Regions from separate parts of the Homo sapiens genome. Here regions 1, 2 and 3 are each linked to region 4. Evidence: promoter capture Hi-C in 16 types of primary human blood cells and fetal thymus (Javierre and others, 2016). All regions are on one chromosome and are shown on one strand. The core of a region is centred on a gene start or on the middle of the fragment in contact, and the rest is flanking DNA. Distances in the headings are between cores, read along the strand shown.

Region 1 (2,700 bases), core at 143-2,642, 3.5 Mb before region 4:
GATCCCACAGAAATACAAACTACCATCAGAGAACACTATAAACACCTCCACGCAAATAAACTAGAAAATCTGGAAGAAATGGATAAACTCCTGGACACATACGCCCTCCCAAGATTAAACCAGGAAGAACTCTGGTTTAATGAACAGACCAATAAAAAGTTCTGAAATTGAGGCAATAATATCCTACCAACCAAAAAAAAGCCCAGGACCAGATGGATTCACAGCTGAATTCTACCACAGGTAGAAAGAGGAACTGGTACTATTCCTTCTGAAACTTCCAAACAATAGAAAAAGAGGGACTCCTCCCTAACTCATTTTTTGAGGCCAGCATCACCCTAATACAAAAACCTGGCAGAGACACAACAAAAAAAAGAAAATGTCAGGCCAATATCCCTGATGAACATCGATGCGAAAATCCTCAATAAAATACTGGCAAACCGAATCCAGTAGCACATTAAAAAGCTCATCTACCACGATCAAGTCGGCTTCATCCCTGGGATGCAGGGCTGGTTCAACATACTCAAATCAATAAAACATAATCTATCACATAAACAGAACCAATGACAAAAACCGCATGATTATCTCAATAGATGCAAAAAAGGCCTTCAATAAAATTCAACATCCCTTCATGCTAAAAACTCTCAATAAACTAGGTATTGATGAAATGTATCTCAAAATAAGAGCTATTTATGACAAACCCACAGCCGATACCATTCCCTTCAAAAATCGGCACAGGATAAGGATGCCCTCTCTCACCTCTCCTATTCAACATAGTATTGGAAGGTCTGGCCAGGGCAATCAGGCAAGAGAAAGAAATAAAGGGGATTCAGATAGGAAGAGGGGAAGTCAAATTATCTCTGTTTGCAGATGATGACTGTATATTTAGAAAACCCCATCATCTCAGCCCATAATCCCTTATGGTGACAAGCAACTTCAGTAAAGTCTCAGGATACAAAATCAATGGGCAAAAATCACAAGCATTCCTATACACCACTAACAGACAGAGAACCAAATCATGAGTGAATTCCCATTCACAATTGCTACAAAGAGAATAAAATACCTAGGAATACAACTTACAACGGATGTGAAGGACCTCTTCAAGGAGAACTACAAACCACTGCTCAAGGAAAGAAGAGAGGACACAAACAAATGGTAAAACATTCCATGCTCATAGATAGGAAAAATCAATATTGTGAAAATGGCCATACTGCCCAAAGTAATTTACAGATTCAATGCTATTCCCATCAAGCTACCATTGACTTTCTTCACAGAATTAGAAAAAACTACCTTAAATTTCATATGGAACCAAAAAAGAGCCCGTATAGCCAAGACAATCCTAAGCAAAAAGAACAAGGCTTGAGGCCTCATGCTACCTGACTTCAAACTATACTACAAGGCTACAGTAACCAAAACGGCATGGTATTGTACCAAAACAGAGCTATAGACCAATGGAACAGAACAGAGCCCTCAGAAATAATACCACACGTCTACAACCATCTGATCTTTGACAAACCTGACAAAAACAAGCAATGGGGAAAGGATTCCCTATTTAATAAATGGTGCTGGGAAAACTGGCTAGCCATATGCAGAAAACGGAAACTGGACCCCTTCCTTACACCTTATACAAAAATTAATTCAAGATGGATTAAAGATTTAAACATAAGACCTAAAATCATAAAAACTCTGAAGAAAACATAGGCAATACCATTCAGGACATAGGCATGAGCAAAGACTTCATGACTAAAACACCAAAAGCAGTGTTAACAAAAGCCAAAACTGACAAATGGGATCTAATTAAACTAAGGAGCTTCTGCACAGTAAAAGAAACTATCATCCAAGTAAACAGGCAACCTACAAAATGGGAGAAAATTTTTGCAATCTACCCATCAGACAAAGGGCTAATATCCAAAATCTACAAGGAACTTAAACAAATTTACAAGAAAAAAAAACAAACAACCCAATCAGAAAGTGGGCAAATGATATGAACAGACACTTTTCAAAAGAAGACATTTATGCAGCCAACAAACATGAAAAAAAGCTCATCATCACCAGTCATTAGAGAAATGCAAACCAAACCCACAATGAGATACCATCTCACACCAGTTAGAATGGTGATCATTAAAAAGTCAGGAAACAACAGATGCTGGAGAGGATGTGGAGAAATAGGAATGCTTTTACACTGTTAGTGGGAGTGTAAATTAGTTCAACCACTGTGGAAGATAGTGTGGCGATTCCTCAAGGATCTAGAACCAGAAATACCATTTGACCCAGCCATCCCATTACTGGGTATATACCCAAAGGATTATAAATTATTCTACCATAAAGACACATGCATATGTATGTTTACTCCAGCGCTATTCACAATAGCAAAGACTTGGAACCAACCCAAATGCCCATCAATGATAGACTGGATAAACAAAATGTGGCACATATACACCAAAGAATACTATGCAGCCATAATAAAAGAATGAGTTCATAACCTTTGCAGGGACATGGATGAAGCTGGAAACCATCAATCTCAGCAAGCTAACACAGGAACAGGAAACCAAACACCGCATGTTCTAACTTGTAAGTGGGAGTTGAACAATGAGAACACATGGGCACAGGGAGGGGAACATCACACACCAGGGCCTGTCGGTGGGGTAGGAGGCAAGGGAAGGGTTAGCATTAGGAGAAATACCTAATGTAGATGACGGGTTG
Region 2 (2,700 bases), core at 130-2,629, 3.3 Mb before region 4:
CCACCTCGGCCTCCCAAGGTGCTGGGATTACAGGCGTGAGCCACCGCACCTGGCCCAGTAGAGTGCAAGTCTTAAAGCCTGAGTTGTCTTCTTAGGTTATGGTTGTAGTGCTTCGTGGATTCTTACTAAATTCCAGTTTTACTTAATCCGATAAAAGAGACTTTACAAGTCTGTAGCCTCACACTGCTGCCGTTGTCTTTAAGATCTTTCCCTTAATCACTTGGTCTGGCATACCAGCTGACAGAGGAATATTCCCAAGGCGTCCTGCTGTCTTGTTGATTTACCCAGTCCTCAGTGTCTTGTATTAACTTATCTTTGCCTACCAAGTGAAGGACACACATTGAGCTCCACACTCAAGGCCCTCTGCTCTATGGTACCAACCTCTTTTGCCAGGTCACCTTCTTTGGCTCCTAATTTAAACAGTTGGAATTAATTGCTGTTATTCAAATGGGCATTTGGTCGTACTGCTTCTTTCTCTCGCCTTCAAACTGGAATACCCTATCTTTTATATCCTCATAAAAATTCTATCCTTCCTTCAAGGCCCATCTCATGTCACATCCTGATTCATCTGTTAGTGCTCTGATTTGAATTCCTGTAGTATTTTGTATCTTAATTATAGCACTCAGTATCTCATCTTGTATGCTTATCGTATTCTAGATAGCTATTTCAGATGAGGGCGGCAAACACTGTGTGTAGGGGCAATCAAATATTTGTCAAATTGTCAGGACCTTTCTTGTGTTGCCTTAACTACACTATTGTTAGCTATAATTTGGGGTTGATGAATTTTAAAACAAACCCTGAATGAAATTTGTGTCCTGCCAAACCTTTAGGATATACCTGCTTATGGCTTTTGGATGTACAATTTAAGCCAAAACAGGATGGGTTACATTGGTGAAGTTTACTTTTTGCTTCTGAAATAACATCTAGAATGTTAGTTTGTAGAATAAACATTTTCTAAGAATTTTTTTACATTTTTTACCTGTAAATGCAACTCTTTTTACAATTCTTCATTTCCTTTGGAAGGAGTCCAAAACTACTTACCTGGAAGACCTTCCACCACCCCCTGAGTATGAATTGGCCCCGTCCAAGTTAGAAGAGGAAGTGGATGATGTCTTTCTCATTCGAGCTCAAGGACTGCCCTGGTCATGCACTATGGAAGATGTGCTTAACTTTTTTTCAGGTATATTTTATGTATGTTTTATTTATTTATTTTTTTTCCTTATATTGTTTCTCACAAGCAGGTATGTATGTTTTAAGTATGTAATTTTGTCTGAGTAAAAGGTAGTGCTACAAATCCATGTCAGACTACGCTGTCACCTTCCTTTTTGATGGTTGGGAACTGTCTCATTCTGGTTGGTTGCATATACCAAATGATACCATGTGTGCTGTTTGCGGTATGTAACGAATTGAAAGACTTTGGGCCAGGGGCAGTGGCTCAGGCCTGTAATCAGCAGTTTGGGAGGCCAAGGTGGAAGGATGGCTTGAGGCCAGTAGTTCCATACCACACTGGGCAACACTGTGAGACTGTCTCAATTTACATATGTATAAAGACTTTGAATGCAACAAAAGTATTTTAACGTTAAGACTGCATAGTATGGGCCAGGCGCAGTGGCTCACGCCTGTAATCCCAGCACTTTGGGAGGCCGAGGCGGGCGGATCACAAGCTCAGGAGATCGAGACCATCCTGGCTAACATAGTGAAACCCCGTCTCTACTAAAAATACAAAAATTACCCAGGCTTGTAGTCCCAGCTACTTGGGAGGCTGAGGCAGGAGAATGGTGTGAATCCGGGAGGTGGAGCTTGCAGTGAGCCGAGATGGTGCCACTGCATTCCAGCCTGGGCGACAGAGTGAGACTCTGTCTCAAAAAAAAAAAAAAATCCATCATACTATGTAGGTTTTTTTTTTTTTGAGACGGAGTCTCGCTCTGTCGCCAGGCTGGAGTGCAGTGGCATGATCTCAGCTCACTGCAAGCTCCGCCTCCCGGGTTCACACCATTCTCCTGCCTCAGCCTCCCTAGTAGCGACTGCCACCACACCCAGTTAATTTTTTGTATTTTTAGTAGAGCTGGGGTTTCACCGTGTTAGCCAGGATGATCTCAATCTCCTGACCTTGTGATCTGCCTGCCTCGGCTTCCCACAGTGCTGGGATTACAGGCGTGAGCCACCGTGCCCGGCTGGTATGATGGAATACTACGTAGCCATAACAAAGAGTGAGATTATGTGCTTTGCAGCAATGTGGGTGGTGCTGGAGACCATTATCCTAAGCAAACTAACATGGAACATTAAACTTAATACTGTATGTTTTCACTTACAAGTGGGAGCTAAACAATGAGAACACATGGACACAAAGAGGGGAACAAGAAGACACCAGGGCCAACTTGAGGGTTGGGGAGAAGATTAAAAAATACCTATCGGGTCCAAGTGCGGTGGCTCACGCCTGTAATCCCAGCACTTTGGGAGGCCGAGGCGGGCGGATCACGAGGTCAGGAGATCGAGACCATCCTGGCTAACATGTTGAAACCCCATCTCTCCTAAAAATACAAAAAAAATTAGCCGGGCGTGGTGGCACGCTCCCGTAGTCCCAGCTACCTGGGAGGCTGAGGCAGGAGAATCGCTTGAATCTGGGAGGCGGAGGTTGCAGTGAGCTGAGTTCACACCACTGTACTCCAGCCGTGGTGACAGAGAGAGACTCTGTCTCAA
Region 3 (2,700 bases), core at 55-2,554, 3.2 Mb before region 4:
GGGTTTCACTATGTTGCCCAGGCTGCAGTTGAACTCCTGGCTTCAAGCAATCCTCCCACCTCAGCCTCCAGAGTTAGTCCAGATATTCAAAAACAATATTCAAGAACAATATTCAAATAACCTAAACATTGATGGAAACCCTACTCAAGTTCCTACTACATACAATTTCCTTTGCCAAAAGTTGAGATGATCCTTACTATCAGATTTCTAATTAAAATAATGTCCTTGGACATAAATGGAAATATTTAGTTTATAATAATGTCATACTTAAAGGTCAATTATTTCTAGTATTATGAATCAGAGAACTGAAGAAAGAAGACTTCTCCTAGTTCTATATCACTGACAATACATTGCTTCACAGGTCTAAAGAGACTCCAGAGACAATTCAGCCTCCAGTGTAGCTGAGATTACAGGTGTGAGCCAGCAGGCCCAGCTAGTGTTTATCTTAATAATGTTGCTGGCCGGGCGCGGTGACTCAGGCCTGTAATCCCAGCACTTTGGGAGGCCGAGGTGGGCAGTTCACAAGGTCAGGAGTTTGAGACGAGCCTGGCCAACATGGTGAAACCCTGTCTCTACTAAAAATACAAAAAAAAAAATTAGCCGCGCATGGTGGTGTGTGCCTGTAGTTCCAGATACTCGGGAGGCTGAGGCAGGAGAATCACTTGAACCCGGGAGGCGAAGGTTGCAGTGAGCCAAGATCGCGCCACTGCACTCCAGCCTGGGTGACAGAGAGAGACTTCATCTCAAAATAATAATAATGATAATAATGATGTTGCTGAAGATTTCTATGAATGTATCCAGTAATTCTCATGCTCTCTCTTTCTGGTTCTTCTTCTCCTTCTTTTTTTTTTTTTGAGACAGAGCTTTGCTCTTGTTGCCCAGGCTGGAGTGCAGTAGTGTGATCTCGGCTCACTGCAACCTCCACCTTCTGGGTTAAAGCAATTCTCCTGCCTCAGCCTCCAGAGTAGCTGGGATTACAGGCGTGCACCACCATGTCCGGCTAATTTTTGTATTTTTAATGGAGATGGGGTTTCATCATACGGGTCAGGCTGGTCTTGAACTCCTGACCTCAAATGATCCACCTGCCATGGCCTCCCAAAGTGCTGGGATTACAGGCGTGAGTTACTGTGCCCGGCCTGTCCTCTGCGTTAAAGCTTCATCTTTTCTTGCCAGTTATTATTGCAAAGGACTCCTCATTGGTTTCCCTGCCTCTGGTTTTAATCTATTCCAGTTGCCCTGCTCTACAGCAGCTAGAATGAGTAATTTACTTTTCTGAACGTTCACCTAATTATGCCACAACATTTCTTAAAAACCTGGGTTCACTTCTTTATGTGTGGGATACAATCTAAATGCATTAACTACCTAGTAAGGTCTTTCATGATCTAACCCCTTCCTATCTTTCCAATATTATCCTCCTATCTTGTCTTACCCCTTGTTGCCTTTGACTAAGCTTTAACATGTTTGCCATTACTCATATTGCGGTACCCGTTCTTCCTCTCCCAAACTCTACTCAAACAAAGCTGTGATACTTTTTCTGCTCTCCCCATGTAGAAAGGTACATGCCATTTTTGAGGTCTCATAGTACCCTATTTAAGCAGTTAATTGTTTTAATTGTAATGAATTTATGCCTCTTCCCAAATTTAGCATCGTTTTTTCCTCTTTTTACAATGCATAAAAGATTTATTTTTTGTACTATTTGTTCCTTGTACTATTCCTAAGTAGTTATCAGTCCCTCTCACTTATTTTTTATTTTTTTGAGACATGGCCTCACTGTCACCCAGGTAGTGGCACAATCATGGCTCACTGCAGCCTTGACCTCCCAGGCTCAAGTGATCCTCCCACCTCAGCCTCACCACTAGCTGGGACCACAGGCGCACACCACCATGCCCAGCTAATTTTTGTATTTTTAGTAGAGATGGAGTTTCACCCTGTTGCCCAAGCTGGTCTCGAACTCATGTGCTCAAGTGATTTGCCCACCTTGGCCTCCTAAAATTCTGAGTTTACAGGCGTGAGCTACTACGCCCAGCCTCACTTATTTTTAAGACCCTTTCCTCTTAAGATCACATCAAAATTCTTTTTTTCTATCTGTGACCATCAGGTATCCGAATAAAAGCAATTCAAAAAAACTGGACTGAATAAGAAGCTTAAGGAATAACTTATTTAGCTTACATTTATATTTCCCTTTTTATGTATGTTCAAGTGTGGTGTGAATAGAAATATAAGTATGTCTAAAAGAGGTCATTTAATAAATGTGAAAAAATTTTAGGTGCTAATTAAATTCTGCCATCTACTTAATTTGAATAATCCTCACCCCACCATGGCAAAATTGTCTATTATATGTATTAAAACAGGCCATATAAAACAATGCACAAGGGTAAAAGGTACAGCCCTTCTAGCATTAAGTTTTCTTATTTTTTCAGATGGAGTCTCACTCTGTCGCCAGGCTGGAGTGCAGTGGCACGATCTCGGCTCACTGCAACCTCTGCCTCCCGGGTTCAAGTGATTCTCCTGCCTCAACCTCCTGAGTAGCTGAGATTACAGGAGTGCACCACCACGCCCAGCTAATTTCTGTATTTTTAGTAGAGGTGGGGTTTCACCATGTTGGCCAGGATGGTCTTGATCTCCTGATTTCGTGATCTGCCCTCCTCGGCCTCCCAAAGTGCTGGGATTACAGGCGTGAGCCACCACACCCAGGCTAGC
Region 4 (2,700 bases), core at 69-2,568:
GGCATAGAGTATGCAGTCAATAAATGTTAGTGTTTATCATTATCTATTCCAAATGTGACAGCACCAAATTATAAGTTGGACTGATTGGCAAAACTGCCAAACATAGTAAAAAACTCTCCATAATGATTCCAATAGCTTTATTATTGAATTCTTACTATGTTCCAAACATTGTGCTTAGATCTTAACAGGAATTATTCAATTACAACATCTCAACCACTTTAATAGTATTCTCATTTTGCAGACAAGAGAATTAAGGAACAGATAACTTAGTTGCCCATAATGGCAGAATTAATGGAATGGAGTGCAATCCAGGCCTAATTTCAGTCAGAGATCATAGTTCCTTTTTTTCTATCAAAAAAATAAATAAAATAAAAAAATTGGCCTTCATAGTTGACAGCATTTGTTAAAGCACTACATGTTTTAAAAATCTATTAGCTCAACTCCTGATTAATGTATTTATTCAATTAGTAAACTATTTTCTGATTAGAATTTTCTTGTAATTTTAAATTAAATAATAAAATAAGATACAGCTTCATAGAATCATACACTGGTCAGGTGAGAAGTCTTCAGAGCGTCTAATTTAGACTTCCATTCTATCACTATGGAAACACCCAGAATGGTGCCGCAATTTTGCCCTCCATAACATAGCTAGTCAATGGCTGGCAGGTTTCAGGATTCTGTATAGAATTCTTTTCAGTGCATCATACTTAAATGATAGATATTTACGTGGGTCATTTGTTGGCAATGCATCATAAAAATATCGCCCACATACTTGAAAAAGAATACAAGCCATCATCACCATTATTATACATAATTATTCAATTATTTTCAGAGATGATGGTTAGATGGGCTGGGCGTGGCTGACGAATCTGCATTAGAAAAATCTCTTCAAAAAAAGATTCTATTAAAAAAAAAGTCGTCTGCAATTTCTACCTCTCATCCTTCCAAGTATTACTTATTATTCCTTAATAGAACTGTTGAGAAGTTTTACATTGGGCACAAGGAGCGGTTCCCAGGATCGTGCCTTCCTAATAAAAGCCCAGTCTCGCGCCTGTCCCGGGCGCGGCGCTGAGGAAGGGAGGTGGGAAGAGCAGAGCGGCTAGAGGTAGGGCGGGCGGGTGGGTCTGCAGGCTGGAGGGCCGTTGGCCTGGAGCATGAAGGGGCGAGCCCACTAACGGCTTGCTTCCTATTGGACGGCGCGGCCCGTTTTGCGCATGTGTCTCCGGGTTCAAACCCAGGCACAGGCCAAGCGTTCTTGTTTGTTGAGGGCGGAGCCAATGGCGGGGGAGTGTTGTTAGCGCGCGCCTTCCGGATCGCAGCTCTCGCGGCAGTCGCCTGAGACTTAAGGTTATTGCTTGGCCGCGGCCTGGTATTCCGGCGATTCGTTTCTTGCTCGGCTTCCTGGAGCTGTGGTCCGTGTGGGCTTCCACCTCAGACAGTTGCGCTGGCTCAGCGGGGCCGGAACATGGCTGCGTCCGGTCTGGTAAGTGCAGGCCCCCCGCTCCAGGCGAGTGGTTGAGCGGCTGGCTGGGGCACGGGCGCCCGAGGCTGGGGAGAAGGAAATGCTAGGCTGAGGCTGTGATCTCTGAGGGATTTCAGTGGGAAAGCCGCAGGAATTTTTGAAATCAAGTGTGATCGTGTGTCGATAACCAGAGTTAATTTACTGTACTTTTATTATTTCTTAAGTTTTCATGTCGTCATTTCGTCTGTGCCTACGTCTTACTCTTGAGAGGTGCTTGTGATTTCTGCTGGGTTTTTTTTTGTTTTTGTTTTTGAGACGGGGTCTTGCTCTGTCCCCCAGGCTGGAGTGCAGTGGCGCGATCTTGGCTTCTGCTTTTTAGTCTAGCTCCAGTTCCTAGGCCTCCAAATAACTTTTCTCCCCATGGTAGAAGTATTGAAACGCCTTAAAAGTGTGTCTTTGCGTCACACTTGGTAGTTGGGAGAAACAGATTATGTAACAAGTACGTCTCGAAATAATTTGACGTTTTCAGTTCTTCTGTCAAAATGGTGGCCTTTTATGCAGTTCTTGAGGCTGATTTATGGAGCATATGTTATTGACAAACTCTTCTGAAAGACAGCTATCAGTTAAAAGGTACAAGCTGTGAATGACTAATGGGGGCGACAACTCATTTTGTTTACATATTTCTGGACTTCTTTGGTGTTCACTATTCTATATTTCATACTTTGGTTATGGTTACTATATAAAAATCCGTATCATTTCTTTTCTAATTTATCTCCCCTTCTAAGAAAATCTTCAGCTTCGATGATCTCCCATTATGTGACGTTATACATATAAACATAAAGAGTTGTATGAAAGAATAATATAATCTATACTTTTTACTATGAGCACATATATTGTTTACATTATATATAATCAGAAGAAAGCAATAAAGCCATTCTCACTGTGGGGAGAGAAGCGGAATAAAGCTTACCAGATGCCTGCAGTTCAGTTTTTAAATGCCTGTCATAACCTATGTTATGTCATAACATAACCTCAAAATTGTTTTGAGCCCTTAGGAGATGTTTGGTGTATAGCATGCCCATACTGGATGAAGTTACTTTGAAAATAAATTTTACTCGACTCTATCTTAAAGAAACCAAATTGATGATTTACTTTTCTTTCAGGATCATCTCAAAAATGGCTACAGAAGAAGATTTTGTCGACCTTCCAGGTGATTTACGTACTTAAGCTTTTAAGAT

The links. The method cuts DNA at HindIII sites, captures the fragments that hold promoters and counts their contacts. A CHiCAGO score of 5 or more calls a contact.
Region 1: a fragment that was not itself captured here is called in contact with the fragment with the promoter of CENPC in region 4 in 1 of 17 cell types (naive CD8 T cells); the score reaches 6.1 in naive CD8 T cells.
Region 2: a fragment that was not itself captured here is called in contact with the fragment with the promoter of CENPC in region 4 in 2 of 17 cell types (non-activated CD4 T cells and naive CD8 T cells); the score reaches 9.8 in non-activated CD4 T cells.
Region 3: a fragment that was not itself captured here is called in contact with the fragment with the promoter of CENPC in region 4 in 1 of 17 cell types (non-activated CD4 T cells); the score reaches 5.1 in non-activated CD4 T cells.

What each region holds. Positions count from the first base shown.
Region 1 is chr4:70,999,121-71,001,820 of GRCh38, reverse strand. The region is part of intron 2 of DCK (deoxycytidine kinase); the gene reads right to left. Among named protein-coding and RNA genes, the nearest start is that of DCK, 6.8 kb to the right of the region's middle. The HindIII fragment of the contact is 5,573 bases long and covers 1-2,700 here.
Region 2 is chr4:70,834,638-70,837,337 of GRCh38, reverse strand. It overlaps GRSF1 (G-rich RNA sequence binding factor 1), which reads left to right. Exons shown (of 10, transcript NM_002092.4): 2 at 1,024-1,180. Among named protein-coding and RNA genes, the nearest start is that of GRSF1, 3.9 kb to the left of the region's middle. The HindIII fragment of the contact is 4,947 bases long and covers 1-2,700 here.
Region 3 is chr4:70,696,391-70,699,090 of GRCh38, reverse strand. No RefSeq gene overlaps it. Among named protein-coding and RNA genes, the nearest start is that of UTP3, 9.2 kb to the right of the region's middle. The HindIII fragment of the contact is 296 bases long and covers 1,157-1,452 here.
Region 4 is chr4:67,544,121-67,546,820 of GRCh38, reverse strand. CENPC (centromere protein C) reads left to right here and starts at 1,318. Exons shown (of 19, transcript NM_001812.4): 1 at 1,318-1,483; 2 at 2,626-2,672. The coding sequence starts at 1,466. RefSeq lists a silencer at 1,034-1,173 and enhancers at 996-1,546, 1,324-1,563. The HindIII fragment of the contact is 5,245 bases long and covers 1-2,429 here.